7 separate regions of the Homo sapiens genome follow, and all the other regions are linked to region 1. Evidence: promoter capture Hi-C in 16 types of primary human blood cells and fetal thymus (Javierre and others, 2016). All regions are on one chromosome and are shown on one strand. Each heading gives the region's core, a stretch centred on a gene start or on the middle of the fragment in contact. The rest is flanking DNA. Distances are from core to core; before and after follow the strand shown.

Region 1 (3,765 bases), core at 1,048-3,547:
TTGTGAAATTATAGTTTGTCTGAAAGCAACATGCAGAAACCACAGAGGTTTCTGATACTCTCAGCCTCACCACCCCCAACATAAATTTTCCTTTCACAATAAACAATGTGCCATCGAAAGGTTTCCTGTTTCAAAATGGAATAGTAGATGAAAGAAACTGTTAACTCTCCCATTAACAACAAAAAAAGTTTCTTAATGAAGATGAATTCTCAAAGATGAAAATGGAAACTCCCTCAACTACTGCTTCTTCACTTAAGAACTAATCTGTTTCTTTCCCCAGTAAATATTTTCAGTATCATACCAGATGATTGTCATGAGTGGTCAAAGACTTAAATAACCTGCTGGTACTCTTTTGTTATCTAAGAGCAACACAACCTCACAGAAGACAGAACAAACACTTCCAAGCATTCTATGGCCATACACCAACAAAAAGCAGCCAATGGTAAAACTTTACATACTGAGTCATGTAGAGGAACTCTGAACCTTAAAGAGTAGAAAGGATGAAAGGTTAAAAAACAAAAAAGTCTTTGAATCCAACTTTTCAAAAAACACAGAGTTGAAGAAAAATGATGAATTGAAATCAAAAGATTGTTGCCATAACAATGGTTGGTATTAATTAACAGTATAAATAAATCTGGAGAAACCACAGACAAAGTGAATAGTGTTTCGCACAGGCAACGTCAGACAGAACTTACCACTTTGTCCATGAGCTTCCAAGTCTTCTCCACGGTCCTGCGATCTGCGGCAGCTTGCTTAGGGGGTCCAACTGCATCCTGAATAGCATCAATAATACCCAAAATTCGACCTTTTCGGGGATTTCCTCCTCGACCACCAGGGTTTCTGCCATTCATTGAGTTTGCCATCTGGAATTTTAGTTCTTTAAAAGGCAGATTTAAAAAAAGAAAAGTTAGTTGGTTTTGAAAATATTTACCCACCAGAAAACTAGAGACTAACTTGTACCACTGCATCTTCCTCCATCGATTAGAGCAAAACCAAAAGTTCCGGATTCATCTTTATCAATAAGCTTGTGAATTTACACTCTCAATCTTTACACACAGTAGTTTTAAGAGCAGTGATCCTAGATTTGCTTTTACAATACTAAGAGTTAAAGATGCATCCTGCTCACGTTTCAAGTAGCTAAGGCTGAACTAATACTCAACTCATAAAAAAAAAAAAAAGAACAAACAAAACTTAAACAGGTTTCCCCCACCTAGATAAAAACAGAATGTTCTTCCCCTCCTGCCTTAATTCCAATTCAAAATACCAGAACAACTGAAGGTCCTATCATACATTTTGGGAGCCTTACGCAGAAACTTCACTTTCACTCTGTTAGATTTCTCCAAGTTACATAAACATAAAGATTATCCTACACAAACGTAAGGGACAGCTCTGTTGTCAACAAAAGCGCAGGGCATGTCCCACACTAAAACCACCAAGTACGGACACACGAACACCTTTCTTTAAATCAACGCGGTGAGTCGTTATTCCCAAGAACCAAATGAAATTAACACACAAATAGCCCATTTGAAAAGAGAAAAGAGAAAAATGACAAGAGCGGCCACGGAAAGGAGGAGTTCACTTCTCTGGCTCCTCGCCTCTGCCCTCAACCCAAAGCTTTGTTTCAGGACGCCTGTGTCCCTTCCCTGCTCAGGCCCCTTCCCGGCCCCTCGGGTCTGAGCTGCAGGAGGAAGGTGGACTGGGAGGGGACAAAGTGTCCCTCCCGTGCCCGCAGCACCGTCCGTCTAGGGCGCGGGAGGGACACTGTGGGCTCGGCGCCTGGGTGGACGCGCCTCCCGGCCGCCTGCTGCAGTCCTCACCGCCGTCTGCCTGGACGCCCTCTCCCTCCTCCCCGGCCTGCGGGTTCTGGTCTTTAAATGCCCCACTTCAAACTGGACGGCGGCGGCAAAGGCAGCTGAGAGCCAGGGCTGTCCCCTCTTCCTCCTTGGCCCGCGCCTGGCTACCCCGGGCCCCCGGGCCGGCAAGAAGTGTGGAGCCTCCCCGGCGACCCCTTCCCTTCTTGCCTTTCGGCGCCGTAGCTGTCCAGAGACACGCGTGTGCGCGGGTCCCACTCCACACGCACGCAGCCCAGTGTGTGTGGGGAGCCCCGGCTGGGAGTGGGATCGCTGAGAACAGCTCGCTCCCGAAGAAGGAGCAACCCAGCGCGCAGGCCTCCGAGACGTGGAAACGCAACAATTACCGTCAAGACAAATCCACACCCGCTCTCCCCTCCCGCCCGACTCGGGGAGGCCGCGGGACGCCGCAGCAGCACTAGCAGGAGGAGGAGACCGCTCGCTGGACACCCCACCCCTGTGGCACACACAGGACCCAGGCTCGGGGCGGGGCGGGGCGGGGGCGGGGCCGGGCGCCGCTGAGCCAATGCCGCGCAACCGCGCACTGCCCGACAGCGGGTGCAGCCAATGGACGGGAGGCGCCCGTCCTCCTCGCGCTGCCGCCCCGTCCACGTCCTCCACAGTACACAATGGCCCCAGAGGAAGGCCCGCTCGCAGCACGTCAGAAAGGAATTGGACTCGGAGAGAAATGAGGGGCCTGGACTCTCCCGGGAACGAAAGTGGAAACGGGAAAGGAAATGGACGAAGGGATGCAAGGCACGAAGGAGCTAACCAATAAGGGGTGGCAGGTGGGCGTGAGCGTCGGGACCGGGAGCCAAAGCCATCTGGGGCTGAAAGGCGGGACTTCCTGCTTCGCTTACCTTCCTAGTCTTTTGTTTCATAGCAACAGAGTAGTGGCTGGAAGGGTGTTGCTTCTCCGCTCTGGGCGGGTCCAACGCTGGAGAAATTCATCTCCCTAGGGCTGCCAAACCCTTCTACCCAGGACAGCAGCCAAACAGGTCTATGACGTTGCTTCTTGTTGGCTATCAAAAAGAGCAACAGCCACTGAGCTTCTAAAATGCAGAATAAATCTCACAGAGAGTAGGCTGGGGTGACATCTGAATGCCAACTGAAACTTCCCAAGTTTCCGAGTTTCTCTTTTGCTGTTAGTTTTAGAGGGATTGCAGACCAAACATCAGGCTGATGAAAAAGCAAATAGTTGACAACGCTGGCCAAACAGTCTCTGCTAATCATGCCAAAGCAATAAAAGTACCAGATAATGGGAATTGCTGATAAATACCTTGCACCTTTTTACTTAGTGCAAGTTTCTGCCTAAATGACTGAGGAGGAGACAGCTACTGTGTTTTGTCGGAGTCACCTTTACATAGATTTCTATCCATTTAAAAACAACCTTACTGTAGCTGCCATTCTCTACCAGCATTGTTACCTCTTTCTGTGGCTCCCTTCTTTGTGCTCTTAAAAAGGCCGACATCTGGCTAGTCTTTAAAGGAGAAAGCTACTGTGCTGGGACTTGTCTTTCAGCAATATCATAGGTTAAACAAATGCCTTCCATTTATTTCAGTTTACTTCAATCCCACCACTCATGCTACCAACAATTGCTCTGGACTTCATACTTTGGAACTTTCTTTCCACTACAGTTGATAGCGTTTATTACACTTTTCAGCTTGGACATCTCAGATGTTCTGATATTTTACATTGGGTTTTTTGTTTTTGATTTTGTTTTTTCAAATCTTGCTCTAACCACGTAACCTGATAAAATGTTTCTCAATGGTTCTAACCACTTTCTAGCAACTAAGAATTTTAATACTGTAATTATTACTATGAAGGATCCTGAGTTTTCCTTTACAGCCTTGAATTTACATGGTTAAGATTTTAATTTGACGAAAACAGAAAAAAAATGTGCCTTTGCAACCAG
Region 2 (4,015 bases), core at 647-3,146, 420 kb after region 1:
TCCAAAAAGATAAAGTAATATGTTAATTATCTCTGTTAATTTTAGAGGTTTTCATTTCAAACATAGGAAGAGTCCAAAGATTAAGTTATAAAATATTTAACAAATGTTATAGGGTGAGATGTTGTGAAGGGCTCAGTAGTAGAGGATATTATATTTTCCCTGAAGGTATTAGCACATTTGTTGCAGAGAAAGGAAATACATATAAAAAAAGTGTAAAGGAAAAATAAAAGCCCAAGGAACAATAAAAGCCAAAGTTCCAATGCCACATTAAGGGACATGGACCCTAAAATTGAGAATTCAGCATCATAGACTGGAAAGTTCAGGAGTTCTTGGAAATGACTGTAATTTTAATTTCTACAATTAAAAATATATAGAATCTCTATTGAAATAGTTTTTTAATTAATCAATTAGCCTTCTAGTGCATATTGAATGAGTACATACAATCATTATTCAAGATCAGATAAGCATGATTACAACTCATTCACTCAGTGGTATATTCTTCAGTTGAACATTTTGGTTGCTGTGATCATTTTGAATGTTACAAAGCCTCAACTTGCTTTTATTCTTGATCACAAATAGATAATAATAGAAATGTAAAATAGACCTTGAATTAAAGGCAGAAAGCATAAAGAGCTCAATGTGAAAAACAAGTGAATCTTAACTTTCATGTGAAACTCTGATGAGAAAGAACCATCACATTCTTCATTTTTGTTTGTGTAGTCAACTTAAATGGATCCCATGACTTAATCTTGCTGGATCAGTGGGAAATTTAATATTAGTCATTACTGCATCTTCTGCTCATCTCCACCACTGGCAGCTGTAGGTCTCAGGTTTTCACAAAGCACGATTGAGAAGGCCTCTCTAGTCTGCCCTTCTTGCTAGTTCATCTGAGGTGTTTATGTTCTGAGTCTTCTCATCAGTCAATTAATGTTAATATCTACCAGCTTTACTTCCACTGCCATACAGGTGTGCCCAGACACTCTGAGTGTTTTGAGACCTTGGGGCCTGGTCTCCAGCTTCCTTAGGTGCATAGTGAAGACACTCCCCACTGGGTCTCAAAACCTTCCTGGGATGGTGCCATGCATGTGTGTGGTCTTGCCCCTTCCACTTACATCATAACTTCCTCTAGCTCTCAGGGCTGTAGTGAGAAATAAAAATGGTACAACCTTTAAATCATTTTTACTTTCCTTTTCAAATCTTTTTTGAGGCAATAGCATAGGAAAGAGAACTTCACCATTTTATTTTATTTCAAATCAGCATATCTAGGAGAAACTGGTGGGGAGAAAGACATGAAGCAGGGATACTCAGCATACAGTAGTGTTCCATATTTTGGCTGGGGTTAATTTCTAACAATGTATGTGCTAGAAATCAAATAAAATTATCCTTGAAAGTATACTTAATTTCCAATAGAGTACGGTATCCATTACTTTGTATATTCAACTCTGTTCTAAAATGTTTATGTGTAAATAATAGAAACATTAGTAACATAAAAGCATTTGTGAATGGAATTTTATCATATAAACACATCATATATACCTGTATATATTTGTATGTGTGTATATATATACACACACACACATATGTAGAGCCTCCTTGCTGCATATATGCATACATGTATACATGTATGTCCATGTGCATATTTGCTTTCTGTTTTGATTGTCCTTTCTTTCACTTATCCTCTACAACCTGGAAAGTTTAATTTGTGTTGAATGAATGGGACTATCAGCCACCTTACAACCTAAGCTCAAAAGGAAGACTAGCTCCTTTGGTGATTTTAATTATTCTAAAATTATAAGCATTTCAGGCCGGGTATGGTGGCTCATGTCTGTGATCCCAGCACTTTGGGAGGCCAAGGCAGGACCCGAGGTCAGGAATTCGAGACCAGCCTGGCCAAAATGGTAAAACTCTGTCTCTACTAAAAAATACCAAAATTAGCTGAGCATTGCGGTGCGTGCCTGTAGGCCCAGCTACTTGGGAGGCTGAGGCAGGAGAATTGCTTGAACCAGGAGGCAGAGGTTGCAGTGAGCCGAGATCAGGCCACTGCACTCCAGCCTGGGTGAGAGAGTGAGACTCTGCCTCAAAAATAATAATAATAAAAATAATAAATAAATAAATTTGTAAATTATAAGCATTCCTTCTTCTGAATACTGATGAAGAACAGAAGAATCTGCTCACTCACAATGCCCAAGTCCTTTTCCGTGAAGGGTCAAGACCAATGGTTAAGGTGAAATACGATGTCTTCTGGGTCAGTTCAGACAATTTTAATGGCTTTGGACAACCCAATGAGGCTTATCTCATTCTGTGATTCATTTGGTAACTCTTATATTAAAATCCTTTTGTGCATAATCTCAGTTGGAGCAAGTGTGACATCATGCTATAGCCAACATGGAGAGGAGGAACATTGAAATAGAAATATTTATATCAGAGAGGCCTATTACAGAAACAGAGTAAGCACTGATGAACTGTCTTGAATGCCAAGCTAAGAATTTTTTTGCCATGCAGTAAGATGTTACAGTACATTTCTATGAGGTGACAACTAGGTGAAAAACAATTTGTTTGGTATTCTAATAGCAAAAAACCTGAAAAATAATTATAACAAAAGGTGACAATATGATGTCTCTGATAAGCTGTCTTTCAGAAACAGTATTTTCATACATAAGATGCCAGAAGATGAAATGTAGCCTATTTTTCAAAGCTGAGAGAAAAATAAATGAAAATAGTATCTGGCATACACAGAAGATGTAGGGGAGTATTATTCATAACCATGAGAGGTTAGTTGAAGATAGAATATTGGGCTTAGTCTTATTAAATGAGATTATTTGGAGATAGAGCCTAGAACTGCAAACGTTAACAAGCTATTCAGGTGTTTGTGTTTTTTTTGTTGTTTTTTGTTTGTTTGTTTGTTTGTTTTCTGAAACTTACGTGTCTCAGACTACTGCAGAAATCAAGTGAGTATATTGATTCTAACATGTTTTATTTTCTGAGTCATTTAGACTCCTTGAATTTCAATCCCCTGTTCTGCAAAATAAGGAAAATTTTATCTGCAATAACTATATCATTTAGGGAATTACCTATATAGTTTAGGGGATGACTGAAGAAGCAATCATATATAAAAAACACTTTCAAACTTAGAAGTGCCAGACAAATGCATGTTGCTGTGGTTGTTGAAACCTGTATTACCATTATACCTCAATTCCTTCCTCAAAATTTGTATTTCTTCTTCTATGCTATGTAATGCATACTCTGTGGAAGCTAGGTCCAATAGCCATTAATCTTTAAAAGGCTTAGAAGAATTTGTGTTCCAGTCAATGAAAAGCATTAAAGCTGGAAGGGATTTTAGTGTATCTTTTCAACACATCTAATTCAATGTTTTACAGATGAAAAGGTTGAGATCTAGAGATTTGAAATTCTTCTGTCGTTTTTTTCATATTAGAAAATCAAAGATGATTATTTGTATTTTTTAAATAAAAGTATATCAAATATTAGATATGCATCCATGAGTATATTCATTCTAAAATTCATTTGTTCTTTCTTTCCCACTCCCCAAACATGCCAAAAAAAAATGTTTAATAGAGGACTTGCGTCAAAGTTCCAAGCCCTCTGGAACTTTGGTTCTGGGTGTGGTAAGCATAAAGAGGGTGAAAGCGTTCTGCTATCTGGGTTGAGTTTTTGGAGGGCTTAATCCCAAAGTCCTAGAGAGTTGACATTTTTTTTGAGATACCCCAGATCTGTTTTTTGCAGATATCCTAGGATTCAGCAAAAATAGCCCAATATAAATATTCAAGAAATCTGCCACACGTTGATAGAAAATTTTGGCAAATATGTAATCACAGATGGTACATATCACTGAATCTAAGTAAAATCAATCATAGACTCAAAGGAAAGACCTATGATTTAAGAAACTAGAATAATATAGACTCTCATTTTACATAAAAGCAAACTAAGGCTAAGAAATATTATTTTGTGCCCCGAAAGTTAAAGATTATGGAAGAGTACCACCTTGATCTACTCATGC
Region 3 (3,810 bases), core at 1,062-3,561, 340 kb after region 1:
ATAAGGGATAAACCAGTGATTTTAAAGTCATCCATATAAAGGGCTACTTTCCCCTGCCTCTTTCCAATCCATTCTGGATTAATGTTTTTGTAAAATACTTTAAAAATAAATTACCAGAAAAATGGAATAAAACGGAGAAATACAAAATATATATCCTAGTTTTTTTACTCTCAGATTCAACAAAGTTACGCTGCCAAATTGCTATGACTGCTTGTTCTAAATTTATAACTGACTTTGTTTCTGACTTGTAGCACATAATTTGTGGAGCAACACCATTCCGCAGACCCACATTTTAAGAAGTACTGGTGTAAATCATAATCTTATCTTGGGAACAGTTGCTTACTAAATACCAAAACAAACAGAAATCATAATCATTTTGCAGGGGAACTCTTCTGCTGGCCAGAGAAATAAACTTAAGGTAGAAAAGACTTGACTAACCGATTCTCTTTGTTTTTCTTTTATCTTTTTTTATCACCTTTGTTTTATGTAAGTAATTTTTTTTTTTTACATTTCACTTTCTTAATAGTATTCAAGTCTTGGGAACATAGTTCTTGCAGATAATTTTTCATATTTCCTTGTTTCTGGTATTCTTAATAAGCAATCTCTAATTAGCTCCTGTGTTTTTATTTTATTATGTGTTACAGGACTGTATATAAATCTTATTTTATATTAAGTGCTTCCTAAGGCTTTCAAGAGTCAGTTACTTCAAAAGAGGCTTTTCTAACCACTGGTAACAATGATATTACTAAGTGGTTTTCTTTGAATAATAACCATTACTTTCTTTGAAGTTAATGCCAAACTTAATTTTAAAAAATGATATAAACATGTATAAATTCAACAAAGAAAAAAGGGAGAATGAAATAAATTTTATTAACAAATACCTCGTTTGTTTAGCATTCATTTCTCCAATATAGATGCATACCTATAATAAATCAAACAATAACATTAAGTCTTAACATTGCCATCTGCTGGGAATGTCAGTGCAGTGATACATACTAGAGGTAACATGATGAATTTGTAGTAGCTAAAATCATTTAAGTGAAAAACGTAATTGTTTTTCACTATATAATTCCTAGTTTGATTAACTTTTCTTTCAAAAAATCTGAACTAAAGGAGAAGAAAAGTAAGAAAAATTTGCTCAGTTACTTTGAGGTATTAGAGAGAGTTTTATATATTTTCTCTCAAACATTATTTTATCCCTTGGAGACTGAGAGAGAATTTTTCTTCATGCTTTACCTACAGGGGCACAAATTCCATATAGCTTACTTTACTTTCTTAGGTGCTAAGGAAGATGTGAACAGGGCAGAAAGACAGCCAAGAGTTACCTTTGTATATGTTTTCACTGGTTGTTTTATTTCTCCTTATATATATTCAAAGTTAAAAATTCACTATAACAATGACTTTAATAGTTTCTACAAATGTTGACTGCCTAAGTGGAATGTAAGGCATGCAATTTGTAACTTTAAACAATTAAAATTGTAGTGGTAACTTCTTGTTTCACTATTATTAGACCATGAGAAAAAAATGCCCATTTGACTTTTATTGTCCACGTCAACATGCAGTATTTCAATAGCCATAAAAAAACCAAATGTATTGGAATATACATATAATTAATGTACTGTATTTGAAGAGATTTTAGTGGTCATTAAAGATGTCAAAAGCATGTACAAGGTACAAAGGAATCAGGGATATGGCAAAGATGAAAACATCAATAATATCCCTGAGTTCATGTCCTTGGAAGTCCATCAAAAGCATTCAAATTTTTTTATCCTACTGAATATACAATTATATGAGCCTTAAAGATTAAAAGAAAGCTCATGGCGTTTAGGTAGAAAGTTAGCCAGCAAGAACCAGTTTTCTAGAAAAACCCATTACCTTCTATTAGGTAGAAAAACAAGAAGAATGGTGAATTGCTGTTTGTTTTCTCCTCATGCTTCGAGCATGAGCAGGAGCAAGGCCTTTCAATGACTGAGAAATGTCAATCGATCAATAGGCGATGAATAGAAAACAAGAACATAAAAACAAATCATAATAACATGAATTCCAGGTAAGTCTCTAGTGAGGCATTTAAACATATTGCAATATGCTGAGAATTTCCAATTTGCTAATATTTTCCCTAGTTTATATATTTTCTTTTATAATAACACATCAATAGTGTTTCAGGTTTGATTTATGAAGGAAGCCAAAAATAATATAATTCGGGGTGAGTACAACTGACGTTTATCATCCCTTGAGAGATATGATGGGAACACTCTTGTGGCAACACTAAGTCATCTTTGTGCTCTTCACATAAAGATGAAGATTACATCAGAGAGTAGAAATTAGGTATTTTCCTTTCTACTAATGCTCTTTGCAGTGTTACGCTGAAAGATTTTGGGAGGAAACAGGCTATTGTCACTGGTACAGATCTTCATTTTAAAGACCATCTTGTCACTGTTTTAGAACACTGAACAGGTCTAGATGAACTTTAAAGGATATTTCTAACTTTGATTCTAAAAGTAAACATTACAAATTATTTTTTCGATTGAAGTAAACAACTACAAATCACATCCAAACATTATTTAATCCCCCAGAATGACTCAGTACAGGATCTATTTGTTGAAGGTAAATATGAAAATTTTGCTTGAAACTTTTGCATAATCACATATTTTGAAAAGTAAGAAGTTATTTTCACAAAAGAAAAGAAACAGACATAAGCATGATATGCGTGAATGGATAATAACTGTTTTGTTTTGAGTATAGTCTATTATTTGTAATGGCAAGTTTACAATTTCCTACATGATATATGACATTCTGAGTAGTATCATTTAAATATGTAATTTAAGGTTGCATGGAGGAATATGTTCACCTACCGAAATTGAGACTGGAGGGAAAAGTTGACTAGTTTATTTTTAGCTGCTGTTTAACATGCCAGAAACAGAGCTAGTTGCCTAACATATATGGTTTCATTTAATCGGCCACTGCTTTTGGAGACAGGCAACTTTGTGAAGTAGAAAGAATGCTAGGGAAAGGTAATAAGAAAATCTGGGTTCCAGTTTGTGTGCAGGCATGGGTGAAGTTGAATGGAGTTAGTAGACTTCAAGAAATAGTGAAGCCGTTTTATCAAGTAGGTCATCTAGGTAGAAATGGAAAGTACTCAGGATGACAGAATCCTTAGAAACTAGTTTATGATCTCTACTTCCAAGTTGCATGATACCATGTAAGTGAGATAAATTATGAGACATGATTCATGTATTTCAATAAATATAAATGAGACTCCAGGAAATCGATAAATGGTAGTAAAAAGGAAAATAGAACTGTATGCATTTTCAGTCAGTGCAATGGAAATACTTGGAAGGAAGTAATTGAGTCAAGAACATGAAAAATAAGAATACCATGATAGGAGGGGCACTGAGATAATAACCAGACAAAATCCCGAAATAATGGAAATGTGAAAATGATTTTCAACCAGAACTGCTGAAAACTACCTTCGCTGCAGGTGTCCAGAGAACTGTTCAATGCTCGAGGATAGCATTGGTGTAAGGTTGCTGAGGCTAGTAGAAATTTAGCTCAGGCATCTTTGCAGGGGGTGTGTGGCCCTGTGCAAGTTGAGATCTGAATGGATTCTAAGGTCCAGTGAAAAAGGAAGCCTGTGACTGGGTTGCAAACTGCTGAAAATTGCACAGGATGGATCTTGGAAGAATCTGAGAGCTCTAGCAGTTGATATTTTGCTCTGTTCAGATAAAAGCAATGATGGTCTCTGACAGCTTGCTTTGATTATAATAGTATTTATTGAAACTCCTACACATAAAGCACTATGTTAGTTCATTT
Region 4 (3,677 bases), core at 1,073-3,572, 370 kb after region 1:
GTTAAAAAACAAAAAAAGGGTAGGAATAAACTGCAGACTGCTAGCTGCAAAATGATATGCCTGCTGATTCCAGAAATTGGCCCAAGAATTAGCAATCATTCTACAATAGACACACTAAATACCCAGAAAGGATGCTTTTGCATTAAGCCATTCATCTTAGAAAGATGTCACACACTCTTCTAAGACTTCCTCATTAAATAAGCAGCACGAAAGGTACAGGTCACAGCAGGGAATCACTTAACAAGATTTCACACTAGGAAAAGTGTTTAAATTCACAGCACTTGCACTCTATCCGTGCTGCACTTAAATCTCAATTTTCCAATCATATCACAATTTCTATTTCTTACTTATTTAAGCTACTTAGAGTAGTGAAGACCCTTTTCTTTTAGGATTTAAGGAATCTACATCCATCTTCACACCTCTCTGATCATGTGTGCCCTTCTCCATCCCCTCTTACCCTTTGGATCCTTCGATAAAGTTCTTTGCAATTATTATCATAACATCGTGGTCCTACATAAAAAATATCATAGAAATATGAATACAGAGAGGATATCCTTTTATCTTCATATCTTTGATAGTTACTATGATAATATGACTCTTAGATTACTCTTACGAGAAAAACTTTGCTTATGATATAATCATGACCTCAACCAGGTTTCTCCCAAATACATGAGGGAAGGAAGAATTGGCAAAGGTAAAAATTCTTTTTTATATAAAAAAGAGTCTTCTTCATTCTGTCATAAAAGTATTACATATTTAGTATAGGAAAAGAAAAAAGCATATAAAATAAACCACTGATTTTAATGCATCTTCTAGTATTTTTGGATGCCTCAAATTTAGTAATTTAAAAAATTATATTACTATTTTTCACCAACTTTGTATCATAATACTTTTCCTGTAATGATGGACTCTTTATAAGCAATTTGAGTCACTGACATTGAATGGATATACTACTTGTGTTAAACATTTAAATTATTTTCAATGTTCAGTTCTGAAAAATATTGTCAGATATAAACATTTTAAAGATTCATAATATACCTGTTGTTTATTCTGCCCAGAATTATATTTACGTTTTTTAGGAAGTTGTCTGCCTGTTCTAATTACTGGAATCAAATAGACAAATTGAGAGAGACACCTTTTAATTCTCCTCACTCCTCTGTTCATAGTGATTGTTTTAGGTTGGAAATCTACACCAAAGAGGCCACAGTCTCCACTGGCCATAGCAGACTGACCCGGGATGGAGGGCACTGGAGTAAAGCTGGGCTATTGAGTACCCTTCTTTAGGATTTTTAAAGTGTATCAAAGACAGCAATTCAGTTCCTCTCTGGTAGTGGAAATGTGAGGTCCTTAGGTAGCTGCCAGCAAGGCTCCCCACTTCATGGAAGAATGTGCTCAGCAGAAAAGGAAGACAAACAGCAATGAGACCAAGTTGCTGCTTGCAGCATATCAGTTTTGGTTCTTGTTTTCAGTGCAGCCCAGCCACAGTTACGTGTATCTTCTAAAGAATGCTGCTTTTAGCGTAAACTTTGCTTAAACAGAATTTTTGTTTCTTGCAACCAAAAAAGTGCTGATGAATGCAATAGATACAGTTTCTAATTTATTCAGGAAGTAAAAAGCTTTTATTTTAAATGTTCCCATCAGCATTTGATATTTTCATTAAAATTTCATTTTGTATTTTCAATATTTGATTATTTTCTTGTGTGACTGAACGTTTTTTGTGTTATTTGGTGTATAACTCTACTGTGGTTTGCATTCTTTAGCATTACAAAGTACCCTTATTAGTATTTTTCACATAACACCTTTTTGCCTAAATTCAACCTTGTTGGAAATTCAAATCTTAACTCCTGCTTCTTTTTTGGCTGATAAAATTATGTCTCTCTTTTGTATGTGGACATTGAGTCAGTTTATTTGGAGTTTCTTGCATAATATATAAAGTTGGATTTTACTTTGAGATCAAATTTGAAAGTAATTATTTTAATTAACAGCTTAGTTTATCTGCTGTTATTGATATGGTAGACATGTTTGACCTTAGTTCTATTATGTCTATAAAAATCTTTTGTGGTCTGTTTGCTTGGCTTCATATACATGTTCATGCATAGGTGTGCGTGCATGTTATACATTCACGGTGCATTTCTGATAAAGAAGATGATTTGAGTTTTTGTTAGAGTGTTTATTTTTTAAGGATACCTTTAATCTCCTCTTTCTTGGGACTGTATCTATTAATTTCCTTCTGTGAACAATAACAACATTAGCATATTTCTCCCTTTTCTCTTTTCCCTACTCTTTCCTCCACCACTTAGTTTCAGTCAATGCATTATTTTTCTTAATGTTTGCTTATCTTTGCATACTTAAACATACCTGTATGTCTGCTAATTTATTTTTATTTCTAAATAATAGGTCTGATTACTCCTCCCACTCTTAAAACTGAGAAAATCAGCAATTTAGTTTACCTCCATTCCCCATCCTTTTTCCCTGCCACATTCCGTTATACTATTTTTATTAGTTATATTATCAGTGCATATAACATTGTTTATTATGTTGCAGGCTTTAGTTTTTGCATATTTCAAATCTTAGTCCCAAGCTAAATATGATCAATACTCACCACCAGTTATTTTATTATAATTTATTCAATTTTCTCTTGGTTGGCTGATACTTGTCTTCTAGTAGGATACTAAAGAGAGTTTATGGGAAAAATATACTGGAGTTCTGCATGTTCAAAAATATTTATGTGTTGCCTGTATATATAATGAGGGATAGGCTGAATATAAAATTCTTAGGTCACTCTTTCCTTGAACATTTTGTAGGTTTCATTCCACAGCATTTATATGAGTTGAAGGTTTCTGTGGAGAAGCCACAAGCAAAACGATTTTTTTCCCCTGTTATAAGGCATTTGATTTTTGGTCTGGCTGCTACTCAAATACTTTACTGATCTTTCAAGTATTGTAATTTTCTTGTGATATGTCTTTGTGTTGCTATTTCTTGTGAGTTTTATCTGGGCTGTAATGTAGCTTTTTAAAACTATGTTGCTTAAGCTTCTTCAATTTGGGGTAAATTTTTTTGAGGTGTAAACCTTTACCATTTATTTCTCTTATTAGTTTGCTTCTTTAGCACACTAAAATCTAAAATCTACTAAAATTTTATATGAAAATGTAGATTTTTCATATATTGACTCTTTTTTTGCTTGTCTTCTACTTCATTTGTTTTCTTTAGAGCTCTTTTTAGACTTTTTGATTAACTCTTCTCATTTTTACATCCATTTCTCATATTAATTTTTCCCCAACAGTGTCTTTTCTCCTTGTGCTGCTTCTTTTTTTCTTGTTTTGAAGACGGTCTTAATTTCTTCTTTTCATCCCATCCCCCAAGATCCACCTACTGAAACTCAAGTTAAAAATATTAAGACTAGATTGAATAATACCCAAAGTTCTGTAAGTATATAATCCCAAATTCCATAGTTTGTCATCTATATTTTTATTTTGTTCTTGATTCATATAGGATAACATATAGCCAGCCATTTGACCATGATTTTCATCTACTGTGAAAAAACAGATTTCTGGTATTTGCATTATTTCACTTTTTCTTTATTCCTTTTCTCCTTTACTGCTTTTTGTTTGTACTTTTTTCTAGAATGCATGTTGATTCCTTTAATTTACTTATATAGTACTCATAATTGAAGGACT
Region 5 (3,910 bases), core at 1,299-3,798, 510 kb after region 1:
TTAAAATATTACTAAGATATGTATCAGAATTGTGTGTCTGCTTTGAATATGAATTGCAATTATAAGTGAAGGGTCAGTAACTGAGAGTCAAATAAATCATACTATAGCCTTTTGAAAGAAGCTTCTCTAGATAGTATATTGAGGAGGGTAAGAAACCTAGTAGAAAACACCTATTTAAGCCCTCAGCTCTTTATGAAGTTTGGGGAGAGGCAGCAGTTGATTGCATCCCATTGTTCTGTTGGATCGAAGGTTGCCTAAGAAGCAGGACAGCAAGAGAGAATGAACCAAGAATCATCAGTCAAAAATAAATAATTCCAACTAGATCTATGAGCATATCAAGTCAGGATGGGAGAACTGAAACCAGGAAGCAGAGCAATCAGAATAAGACATTGGAAGCATCAGAGCAGGAGGTAAGTGGTGATCAGAAGAAAAAGAAAAGGGAGAGTCAGTAACAAGGCGGTAACGTTACAGGGAGGAAGCAGGAATGAGTAAAAGAGACTCAGGGATCTTCTTAGGTGCTCCTCTTTAGGAAGCTAGTGTGCTGCTGGGCAGAACCAGGAAAAAGGCAGAATTAGACATAAGTATACTAGAATGAGCCCTATATTTATGCATTGCTTCATTCCTTATTCAACAAATATTTATTGAGTACCTAGTATGTACCAGGCACTATGCTGAGTCCTGGAGAAAGTACAGGTGAACAAGATGGACCTTCTGAACAGCCTTCCTTCTCTATTCCCCACTATGCCTTATCAGTGAGACCTTATTCTTCTAGTTGCTTTGGTAGGACAGGCTCCTTAGGTGATTTTTTTGAAAGGTTGTTTGTTGTTGTTGCTTTTTTTTTTTTTTTAGCAACGATGCATAATGTGATAGACTGTTATGTTTGCCCTGTTTGAGTTTATATTTCCACAGGCATGACCAATATTCACATTTATCATCTTCAAATTATACTGATTTTAAAAGTTTATTTTTAATTGTGCAATTCTCACTGGTTTCCTCTTGGTAATGAGCACCTGAGAAGAACTGATAAAGTATTCAAACTGCTCCTTGAATATCCTATTTTAAAATGTGACCAAATGAGGTCCCTGCTTTGAGAAGACATGGAAAGAATGTTAAGAGCTACTGTCTTTAACAAAGATCACCGAAGAGTATTCCTTCCACCGGCAGTGGGAGCTTCTCATTCCCCCATGAGTCTGGTAAATGCTCAGGCACACACTGTTGCTGAGGAATAACCGAAACTCAGGAACAATCGTATATTTGTATGTTTCCTCCTTCCAAACTCCTGACTCTATTCTAGCTCAGATAGATATGAAGGAGTACGGTAATAAAGCATGTATACTATGAAATTGTACTAATTGGATGCATAAAAGATCACAAGTGCTGTGCAGAAACTCCATTCAAAGGGCCTAAGCTGTAGACATGCAAAACCTGCTGCTTCAGGTGGGCACTGAAGCTACCGTTATAATAGCAGGGCGTGGGCAGTCCTATTTCCTCCATGTCCTTTCCCACATGGCTTTCTCAGCAGGCTGCATTATGACTTTTACGGACCCTAAGTATCATGAACCCCTTACTTCATTAAACAATAAGATTTTATTTTTGATACAGTTGGTATACAAAGATAGTAATTAAAATATTTTTTAATATTTTCTTTCATCTATTATAAAAGTTCACTTTTTTTCCTTCTGATTTTGAAGAAATGTAAAACATTTTATGGGCTCCTAAAAGTATTGTGAATCCTGGGCAACCTGTCCAGGGTACTTAATGGATAAGGTGTCCCTGCCTCTGGGGTCAGTACCACTGCATGCTCCTGCCATCGACTCGTGCCACCCGATTGCCATTTGCTTTTTCAAAATGCAAGCACAAACTTTAGATTCCTTTTTTTTTTTTGGAATAAAAGGGCTCTTTACTGCTCACAAGTTTATTTCTTATTATAAAAATCATTCCCCACCCCTTGCTTTTAGTAATCCCTCTTTACTCCTATTTAATCCTGGATGCCACAATTAGACAGAAAGCAAGAACTTTTTTTTCTTTTTCTTCTGTAGCAGTGGACACCTTATGAGTAGATAGATATTAACTGCTCCAGGTCTGTCAAGTAGATGCATTTCCTTTGCTTTTGATTTTCACTGAGTAGAAAAAAACCTCTGTTACTTGTTACTTTATGACATAGAGACTCCACTGAAATAGCTTAACAAAATGAAAATGTAAAGTGAACCACAGCAATGGTGTGACTAGGGGTGCAAAGTGGATGATGCATTTGAAAGACAGAAGCAGACAGAGAAAGAAAGAGACAAGCAGAGAGACAAAGACAAGAGGCAGAAGGAAAGAGATAATACAGAGAAAAGTAGTTGCTCTGATAGTAATGTGAAGAGAAGTCTAAAAGGCAAGAGTACATAGTGCTAAAGGACAAAAACATGGACTTCCAACTTTCTCTTCATTTTCTTCCTAAGATCATTACCTCTAACCACCTCCACTCAAAATAATTTCCCAAAAGTCATGTTTCCACCAAAGTCTTTATCTTCACTAGCCATCAATGGGAAAAAAAAAAAAGGTGATAGGAAGAGAGGGTTGCTCTAGTTATTACTTCTGCTTAACAGACTACTCCAAAATTTTAGGGTTCAGAACAAACATTTTTTGTTTGTTTGTTTACAGCATCTTTGGGTCAGGAATTTGGTCATCTTTGGGACAGCAAGAATGCCTCGCCTGTGGTCTGTGTTGTCTGCGGCATCAACGAGGAGGACTCCATGGCTGGAGATGACTCACGAGGTGGGAGCTGGAATTGCCTGGAGACAATTTCACAGTGGTTGAAATCAGTTATGGGCTGGAGTCCTAGTGGGGGGCTGTTGTTTAATGTACCTAAACGTGGCATCTTCATGTGGCCTGGGTTTCCATTGCTCACAGCATAGCAGCTTTGGGGTAGTGGCATTTCTTACATGACAGCTCAGAGTTCCAACAGGGAATGTTCCAAGAAAAACAGATGGAAGCTGTGTGTCCTTTTTTTTAACCTAGCTGTGAAAATTACATGGCATAAATTCTGCCATACTTTTTGAGTTTAAACAGAGACATGTCCTGTCAGATGTATAAATGGGGTGCATATAGGTCCTACCTCTCAATGGGAAGAGAGTCAAAGAATGTGTGGACATATCTAAAACCACCATAGACAGGTTTTAGCTAATTCTTCAACTCATTACTTTCTATCTCTGCTGAACATTATTAAGAACATTAGGTTCCACTGGGCGCTGTGGCTCATGCCTGTAATCCCAACACTTTGGAAGGCCAAGGTGGGCAGATCACGGAGTCAGGAGTTCGAGACCAGCCTGGTCAATATGGTGAAACCCCGTCTCTAATTGAAAAAAAAAAAAAAATTAGCTGGGCATGGTGGCGTGTGCCTGTACTCCCAGCTACTCGGGAGGCTGAAGCAGGAGAATTGCTTGAACCCGGGAGGCAGAGGTTTCAGTGAGGTGAGATCGCGCCACTGCACTCCAGCCTGGGTGACAGAGCAAGACTCCATCTCAAAAAAAAAGGATATTATGTTCAAATAATCCTACTCAGCCTTCACTAAGACAACAGAGCCTACCCTGTCATAGTACATCTTTCTTATGTAGAAAAATAACTAATACTCCATCAAATCACCTCCAAATTAAGGAACCCATTCACCCTAATTCTGGGGCTGTTATTGAGGAAATGCCCCTATTTTGTTAGAGGACTTATTTTCTTATGCTATAGAAATGCAGGCTGTAAGGTCCAATGTAGTCAAAATAAGTCATTATGTCTGCGTACGTAAGTGAGAATCCTACGATAAAGCTATGGACTCAGCAGAGCACCTTAGTAAATTATAATGAGGTTACTTCAAGGAGAAATCTGAGATGCTAATCTCCAAATTTCTTAGGATTAATTCTTTTCTGACCCGTCCACA
Region 6 (4,025 bases), core at 1,205-3,704, 400 kb after region 1:
CTCTTCACAATCATAAAGACATGGACTAAATCTAGATGTCCATCAATGGGGGATTGAAGAAAATGTGGTACATATATATCATGGAATACTGCACAGCCATAAAAAAATGAAATCATGTCTTTTGCAGCAACACGGATGAAGTTGGAGGCCATTATCTTAAGTGAATTAGCAGGAACAGTAAACCAAACACTGCATGTTCTCACTTGTAAGTGGGAGCTAAGCCTTGGGTACACATGGTCATAAAGATGGAAACAATATTAGGCACTGGAGACTACTAGAGAGGGGCGAGATGAAGCCTGCAAGGGTTGAAAAACTACCTATTGGGTACTATGCTCATTACCTGGGTAATGGAATCATCCATACTCCAAACCTCAGCATCACACAATATACTCATGTAATGAACCTGCACACATACCCCCTGAATCTAAAATAAATTTTGAAATTACTGAAGAAGAGAAACAAAAGGAGGAAATCTTATGGGAGTCAAAGACACTGTGGGTCTTGGTGCTGCCCCATGCCAATAAGGTGAACTGATAGATCAATCACAATGAGTATGAGTTGCCATACTGCTATTGCTCTTCAGAACTTAAAACATATGGCTGCTTCTGCACTTCTGTCTTCTCATGGAAAATATCTTTTGTGGCCAATGCTGCCGAGAACCACATGAGAAATATAGTTCCAGGCTGGCTGAATTGACACATAGAGAGCTAACAAAGTTGCATAACTAGTCTATATATATATGCTATTGCAGCATTCCTATCTTTTCTCCACATGAACTTTGGGTGACGTTTTCAGAGTGTAACAGATCGTATCGTTCATCAGTTTAAAACACATAAGGGGATTCCCTTTACTCTAAGTTTAAAGACAATCTCCCAACCTGGCCTTTTAAATCCTGTGTAGTTTGGCCTTTTCCTTCCTCTTCAGTCTCATCTTGTACCATGTTTCCCTCACCCTTTGAACTACAGCCGCAGTGCAGTTTTTTCCTTCCTTCAAAGTTACTGTATTCCTGCACGGTCTCTGCATGTGATATTCTCTCTGCTTGCACTGTTCTTTTTGTGTTTCATTGGATCAGTTCCTGCTCCCTTTAGCTTTGACCTTAATTTTAAATTATTTAAAGAATCTTCTGTTATTGCTCCTATTAAGTCAAATGTCTTTATTATGTGCTTCCATGGTGCCACATATTTCACATTCCTGGCCCTTATCAAAGCTTCATTTTTAATTTAGTTGTAGTTATTTAACTAATATCTGTCTCCTCTTAATGTTGTGTGCTCTAGGGCAAGGGTCAGCATTTTTTTTTCTTCAAAAGATAAGAAGTCAGTACTTTAGACTCTGTTGCAACTACTCAACCTTGTTGTAGTCCAAAAGCAGCCATACACAAAATGTAAATGAATGAGTGTGGTTGTGTTTTATCAAAACTTTATTTGTAAAAATAAGTAGTAGGCTATATTTGGCCCACAGCTCTGAAGTTTGCCAACCTCTAATCTGGAACATCAGGCAATGTTTATTTTGCTTACCATTATATTTTCAGTCCCTAGCACATTGCTTTATTCAATATATACCAATATATAGTTGCTGAATGAATAAATGAGTACCAATGAATGAATAAATGAGTAACAGTATATAGTTGCTGAATGAATAAATAAATTATATTTGTTTTCATACAGACTTTGGCCATTCTGTCTTCCACGGTATCCAAACCATTTACGCTACCAGGAATACCTTCTCCCAATCCAAATTGTATGTCACTTCTCAATACTCTTCTTGTTTACCACTTTTTTCATAAAACCATCTGTCATTACCCAAGTTTCCAGTATTGGGGTATTCCAAACTCTAACAGAAGTTATTTTCTGTACCAGTAATTTGACTGAATACACTTATATGACTGTACAGTTCAACAAGGCACTTTCCCAAAGTTTGGCATTTTGGACGAAAATGCCCTAAGTCCTGCTTATCTCTAGGCAGTGAGAGAGGAAAAAATAGTGAGACTCAAACAAAAAAAAAATGTTGACAAATTATTCTGTTGCATATATGTCAACAAAAATGCCCTACACTGCAACAGGTACTAGGGCTTGGGTAAGATGTGGTCCTCCAAATGCAGAGTTCAAGACAGGCTTCACTGAGGTGATGACATTTGAGGTAAATCTAAAGAAGTCAACGTATTACTTATATTTGGTTTAGTATAATATGAGGGACTTACTTTGTTTAGCCCACCCCAAATTTTCATTACAAAAATTTTAAAACATAAAGTTGAAAAAAATTAATTCGATGAACACCTGAGTAGTTACCATTTAGAGTCAACAATTTTTAACATTCTATATTTGCTTTATCTTCCCTCTGTACTTTTTTCTGACCCATAAGTTACAGACATCAACCATTCTCTCTTAATTCATGTGCAGTTACTAAAAGTAAGAACTTCTCTCACATAACCATAATATCATCAGCAATACTTCCCTACTTCATCTAATATTCAGGCCATAATCAAATTCCCCACTTATTACACAAACTGTCTTTTATAGCTCCATTTTTAAAAAGCTCATGATCCAATCCACTTGATTATTGAGTCTGACTCTTAAAAGAAAACATGGGAATTTTGGAATATGAAGTAGATAAAAAGTTCATAATAAAGAATAGCAGGTGAAAATTACAGGAGTTCTCTTGAGGGAATAGCAGACTAATATTTTGTGACCCAATAGCCAACAGAATTGGTGGGAAATGCCTTTGGAGGAGAATGACAAGCCAGATCATGAATGATCTTGAATATTAAGCAAAGGAGCTTTGAACTTATTTCTGTTGAGGTGGGTTTTACCATCCCATAATTTTTGACAATGTTGAGATTGAATACTGGACTGTAGAACAATCTCACTAGCATGATTCATTAGCTCTAGTCTCTTTTTACCTAACCCTTTTCACTGCAGCATCTTAGATGATCAGATTTTTAAAGCAGCCCTCTCCAACTATTAGTCTACAGCTGACCATATGCAGATCTTTTTCAAAGGATAGGAAATTTAGCTTATGATTAAAGGGACATCTGGGCACACTCTTCCAGCAAGGGACTGATTTACCTCCTCACAGATTACCCTGGCAGTCCTAGGCAGCTGATGACCACAGGGGAACTTGAGCCCTTTCTCTGCCTTCCGGAAGCCAGTCACAGGGACTTTATCACAGCTCTCTAGGGCCGAACCTATGTTGTGCTGGTTATTAATAAGAATAACCATTTGCCTTTTCTGATGTGAAAGTGGAAATTCTTGGAACCAGTTACAATTAGGTTGCTATTGATATGAAAACTACAGCAATTCAGCGTTTTTTTCAGCATTTTCTCCCTTTATTTATATAGTTGGAGACTCAAAGGCCAATAGAAGTTAAATTACTTCCATGGGGTTCACAGTCCTAGGCAGCATTGAATAACTGCCCTTCAATGGGCATGGCTATGTGCCAGTCACTGAACTCCACACTCTATTATAGAGTGTCTCTGGAGGGGTTATCTGATGAGCTCAGATAGCATCAGATATGCAGGAAATTCGTAGTGGCTTTATTTCTCTATACATGCTTTGACTTTTCTGATAGTCCCTCTACACCTTGGATAGCTGTGACAATGTACACGTGCCCATTGTTCTTTTAATATTTTCCAGTTCTAGTCATCTCTTTTCAGTTTAATCATTTAGTATATTCAAAAAACAACTTCTGATTACAATTATTTAGGGTAAAGCTTAACCTCTTTGACTTCCTCCTCTTCTCTCAAAGATGGCTTTTGGAGGTATTGGGGAATGGAAAAGTAAAGTAAAAGAAAAAATCCAACTTAATCCTCACTGTCTTAAGTTGGATTTCCCAGAAGCAGACCTTGAGATGAGGATTCTTTAAAGAAATGCTCCCAAGGAGGCTCTGGGAGAGAGTACACAGGGGAGTTCTAGGACACTGGTAATAGAAAAGTCCTGCAGCTTAATCTAGTTTTTTGTTATACTGGTGCATTCATCATGTGAAAATTCATCAAGTTGTTCACATCATCTGTAGATTTTTATGTATGCGTG
Region 7 (3,978 bases), core at 414-2,913, 360 kb after region 1:
CTGCCTCATCTAACCTTGGCCCTGGCTTGACTGCTGTAGATTCTAAAAGCTTGAAGTCCTCCAACTTTGTGCTTCTTTTTCAAATTTGTTTTGGTTTCTCTGAGTCCTTTAAATTTCCATATAAATTTTAGAAAAAGCTTGTCAATTTTTAAAACAAAATACCTGCTGGGATTTTGAATGGGATTATATTGACTCTACAGATTAATTTGGGGAAAATGGACATTTTAACAATATCCCATCATCTGATTTGTGAATTTAGGTCTTCTTACTTTAGATATACAAGTGTACAGATGTTGATTTTTAGTATATTGATCTGAATTCTACAACCTGAATAAATTCATTTATTACTTATAGTAGGTTTTTTGAGGATTTTTATGGTGAATTCAATAGGACTTTCTACACTGACAATAGGGTCATGAAAAAAACTTTTTAAAAATAGTTTTACCTCCTCTTTCCAAACGTGAATGCCATTTATTTATTTATTTATTTATTTATTTATTTATTTTCTGTATTGCACTAACTGGAGCTACCTTAATCCTGTTGAATAGAAATGGTGAAAGCAGAAATATTTATCTTGTTTCTAATCTTCAGGGAAGAATATTTAATTTTTCACTATTAATTATGATTTTAGCTGTAGTTTTTCATAGGTGTACTTTATTTGGTTCAAAAACAAGTATCTCTAAGTCTTAGTCTGCTGAGTGCTTTTATCAAGAATGAATGTTGGATAATGTTCATAGATTTTTTTTCTATATCTCTTGAGATACCATATGGTTTCCTTTTTAAAAAAATATTAATAGGATAAATTACTTTGATTTATTTTTAATGTTAAACACCATTTGTATTCCTTGGCTAATTGCCTTGGTCAAGATGTATTATCTTTCAAAATGCTTTTTGATAAAACTAAAAAAGAGTCCAAGAGCTAAAGGAATCCTAAATAAGAAGAACAAAGCTGGAGACATCACATTACCTGGCTTCAAACTATACTATAAGGCTATAATAACCGAAACAGTATGGTACTGGTACAAAAACAGACACATAGACCAGTGGAACAGAATAGAGAACCCAGAAGTAAGCTGAAACCAATCTGGTCTTCAACAAAGTCAACAAAAATAAGCAAAGGAGAAAACACTTTCTGTTTAATAAACAGTACTGGAATAACTGGCAAGCCATATGTAGAAGAATGAAACCAGGCCCCTACTTTTCACTGTGTACAAATATCAACTCAAGATGGATTAAATAATTAAAGAAAAGACCTCAAATTGTAAAAGTTCTAGAAAAAAAACTAGGAAATACCCTTCTGAACATTGACCTTGGCAAAAAAATTATGACTAAGTCCTCAAAAAAATAGCAACAAAACCAAAAATTAGTAAGTGGGACCTAATTAAACTAAAGAGATTCTGCACAGCAAAAGAAACTATCAACAGAGTAAACAGACAACCCAAAGAATGAGAGAAAATCTTTGCAAACTTTGTATCTGACAAAGGTCTCATATCCAGAATCTACAAGGAACTTAATTCAATACTTAAAAAAAAATGACCCCATTAAAAAGTGAGCACAGGACATTAATAAACACTTCTTCAAAGATGACATACAAGTAATCAACAAACATGAAAAAATGCTCAACATCACTAATCATCAGAAATGCGGTTCAAAACCACAGTGAAATACCGTCTCACACCAGTCAGAATGACTATTATTAAAAAAAAAAAAACCAAAAAATGACAGGTGCTGACAAGAATATGACAAAAAGAGAATGCTTATATACTGTTGGTGGGAATGTAAATAAGAGTTGCTGGCAATGCTGCGGAGAAAAGGAAATGCTTGTATACTGTTGGTGGGAGTATACTGTTGGCTGGAATGTAAAGTTCAGCCACTGTGCAGAGCAGTTTAGAGATTTATTAAAGAACTAAAACCAGAAATATTATTCAACCCAGCAGTCCTATTACTGGGTATACCCAAAAGAAAATAAATCTTTCTACAAAATACACATGCATTCACATATTCATCACAGCACTATTCACAATAGCAAAGACAGAAAATCAGCCCAGATGCCCATCAATGGGGGATTGAATAAAGAAAACGTGATAATTATACACCATGAAATACTACACAGCCTTAAAAAAGCACAAAATCATGTCCTTTGCAGCCACAATGTGAATGCAGCTGGAGGCCATCATCCTATGCGAATTAACATAGGAACAGAAAACCAAACACCACGTTATCACTTATAAATGGCAACTAGACATTAGGTACCTATAGACATAAAGACGAGAAAAATAGACACTGAGAACTACTGGGGGGTGGGCAAAGAGGGTAAGGGCTAAAAAACAACCTATTGGGTACTATGTTCATTACCTGAATGATGGGATAATTTGTATAACAAACCTACCCGTGTACTCCCTGAATCTAAAATAAAAGTTGAAATTATTAGAAATTAAAAAAAATAAATGAATACAATATTTTCTGAACATGATTTAAGTTTGCAAAGTTAAATTTGTATCTGTGTTTATGACATAATTTGTTTGTAGTTTTATTTTCTTATTATGATAATGCTGGCCCTTAATATAAATTGGCATGTATCTATTTTTTTATGCAATAGAAAAATTTTAGTGAGTTTATATTATTCTTTTTTCCTTAAATGTTTGACAGCATTATAAACAAAGCCATCTTGTCCTAGAACTTTCTGTGGCTCACAGTTTTGAGTTCAGCTGAATATTGTAGGGGCACTCCCTCTGAAAATCACAAGAGTTCTCTTTATATGTAGTTCTCTTTTCTCAAGAACTCTTCTCTAAAATGCTGCCCCCAAAATCCCAGCTGCCTGGGCTTCTCTGATTCTTGGAACCCTCAGTTCCATTCAAAGAATCACCAGGTTCTGCCTGAGTTCGTCTTCCTTGTTCTGTGGCTTTGAACTTCTCTCCACCCAGTAAGACAGTAAATCACAGGGCTCGCATGTTTGTTTCCTATCTCTCATGGATCACTGTCTCTTCTTGACTGATACCAATATCCCAACTGTTGTCTCATATATGTTGGCTGGTTTTTAGTTGTTTTAAAAATGAGGGTTTCTTTGGTCCATGTTTTTTAATCTTGGCTAGAAATAGAAGTATAAAATATGCTATTAAGTTAAAAAAGCAGCATCCAAACTATGTATATAGTATATATATACAATATACATATATCTATATGGAGAAAAAAGCTTAAAAGTTCAGCACCAAAATGTTTGTGATATTTGTTTTCAAGTATCAACTTTGCATATTTTCCCTTTTTTACTATTTTCTAAAGTTTTTTATGGAGACTATGTATTGATTCCATAAGAAAAATAAACCATCAATGTTACAGTAATAGAAAAATAGAATTAAATTAGGCACCTAGAAATGAACACAATTTCGAATATGGAATTTTCAGTGAAGGATAATGTAGGACAATTATTTTTCCCATTTATTCATATTTCTATGAATGGAAGCCTGAGATTGTGTCTAATTTTTTAATAGCAAAAATATTTCATCATTGACTTATTTGGAGCTCACAGTCAACAAAAACTCCCATATCTTTTCTAAGGAATTGCTTTCCAGCCCATTGTTTTTTTTTGGTTTTTTTTTTTTTTTTTGCTCTCATTCCTTTTTATTATTCGAGAAAATTTTAAGCATCTTCTATACAATTACCACATTACAATCATTTGATAAAAATAAAATCCAATTAAAATGAAACAACATATGCCTGCACATAAAGAGCCAAATAATTACAAAATTAATTAACCTTGCTCTACATACTTCTCTATAGTGACAATTACTTTCATACATTTTAGCCGATTCTTTAGATATTGCCTCCATATTAAAACACCCACACAATTATATTGCTTTTTGATTTTATAGTTTTAGCGATTACTTACTGTGGGAAGCAGAATTCCTATATGGCACTCATGATTCCTGACCCCTAGCATCCACACCCTTGTGTGTCCCCTTTCCTTTTGAGTTGGGAGGG

What was found. The method cuts DNA at HindIII sites, captures the fragments that hold promoters and counts their contacts. A CHiCAGO score of 5 or more calls a contact.
Region 2: a contact is called between a fragment that was not itself captured here and the fragment with the promoter of CBLB in region 1, in 1 of 17 cell types (activated CD4 T cells). The highest score is 5.9, in activated CD4 T cells.
Region 3: a fragment that was not itself captured here is called in contact with the fragment with the promoter of CBLB in region 1 in 8 of 17 cell types (naive CD8 T cells, activated CD4 T cells, naive CD4 T cells and 5 more); the score reaches 11.8 in naive CD8 T cells.
Region 4: a contact is called between a fragment that was not itself captured here and the fragment with the promoter of CBLB in region 1, in 1 of 17 cell types (activated CD4 T cells). The highest score is 7.0, in activated CD4 T cells.
Region 5: a contact is called between a fragment that was not itself captured here and the fragment with the promoter of CBLB in region 1, in 2 of 17 cell types (total CD4 T cells and total CD8 T cells). The highest score is 5.4, in total CD4 T cells.
Region 6: a fragment that was not itself captured here is called in contact with the fragment with the promoter of CBLB in region 1 in 5 of 17 cell types (total CD4 T cells, total B cells, non-activated CD4 T cells and 2 more); the score reaches 8.0 in total CD4 T cells.
Region 7: a contact is called between a fragment that was not itself captured here and the fragment with the promoter of CBLB in region 1, in 1 of 17 cell types (activated CD4 T cells). The highest score is 6.7, in activated CD4 T cells.

Annotation. Positions count from the first base shown.
Region 1 is chr3:105,866,715-105,870,479 of GRCh38, forward strand. It overlaps CBLB (Cbl proto-oncogene B), which reads right to left and starts at 2,298. Exons shown (of 19, transcript NM_170662.5): 1 at 2,022-2,298; 2 at 696-877. The coding sequence starts at 863. RefSeq lists enhancers at 170-219, 250-299, 420-509 and a silencer at 2,267-2,496. The HindIII fragment of the contact is 9,979 bases long and covers 1,613-3,765 here.
Region 2 is chr3:106,289,693-106,293,707 of GRCh38, forward strand. No RefSeq gene overlaps it. Among named protein-coding and RNA genes, the nearest start is that of CBLB, 420 kb to the left of the region's middle. The HindIII fragment of the contact is 4,948 bases long and covers 1-4,015 here.
Region 3 is chr3:106,208,202-106,212,011 of GRCh38, forward strand. No RefSeq gene overlaps it. Among named protein-coding and RNA genes, the nearest start is that of CBLB, 340 kb to the left of the region's middle. The HindIII fragment of the contact is 5,079 bases long and covers 1-3,810 here.
Region 4 is chr3:106,241,577-106,245,253 of GRCh38, forward strand. No RefSeq gene overlaps it. Among named protein-coding and RNA genes, the nearest start is that of CBLB, 370 kb to the left of the region's middle. The HindIII fragment of the contact is 1,416 bases long and covers 1,615-3,030 here.
Region 5 is chr3:106,373,428-106,377,337 of GRCh38, forward strand. No RefSeq gene overlaps it. Among named protein-coding and RNA genes, the nearest start is that of CBLB, 510 kb to the left of the region's middle. The HindIII fragment of the contact is 4,859 bases long and covers 120-3,910 here.
Region 6 is chr3:106,262,431-106,266,455 of GRCh38, forward strand. No RefSeq gene overlaps it. Among named protein-coding and RNA genes, the nearest start is that of CBLB, 400 kb to the left of the region's middle. The HindIII fragment of the contact is 2,499 bases long and covers 1,206-3,704 here.
Region 7 is chr3:106,225,568-106,229,545 of GRCh38, forward strand. No RefSeq gene overlaps it. Among named protein-coding and RNA genes, the nearest start is that of CBLB, 360 kb to the left of the region's middle. The HindIII fragment of the contact is 3,056 bases long and covers 136-3,191 here.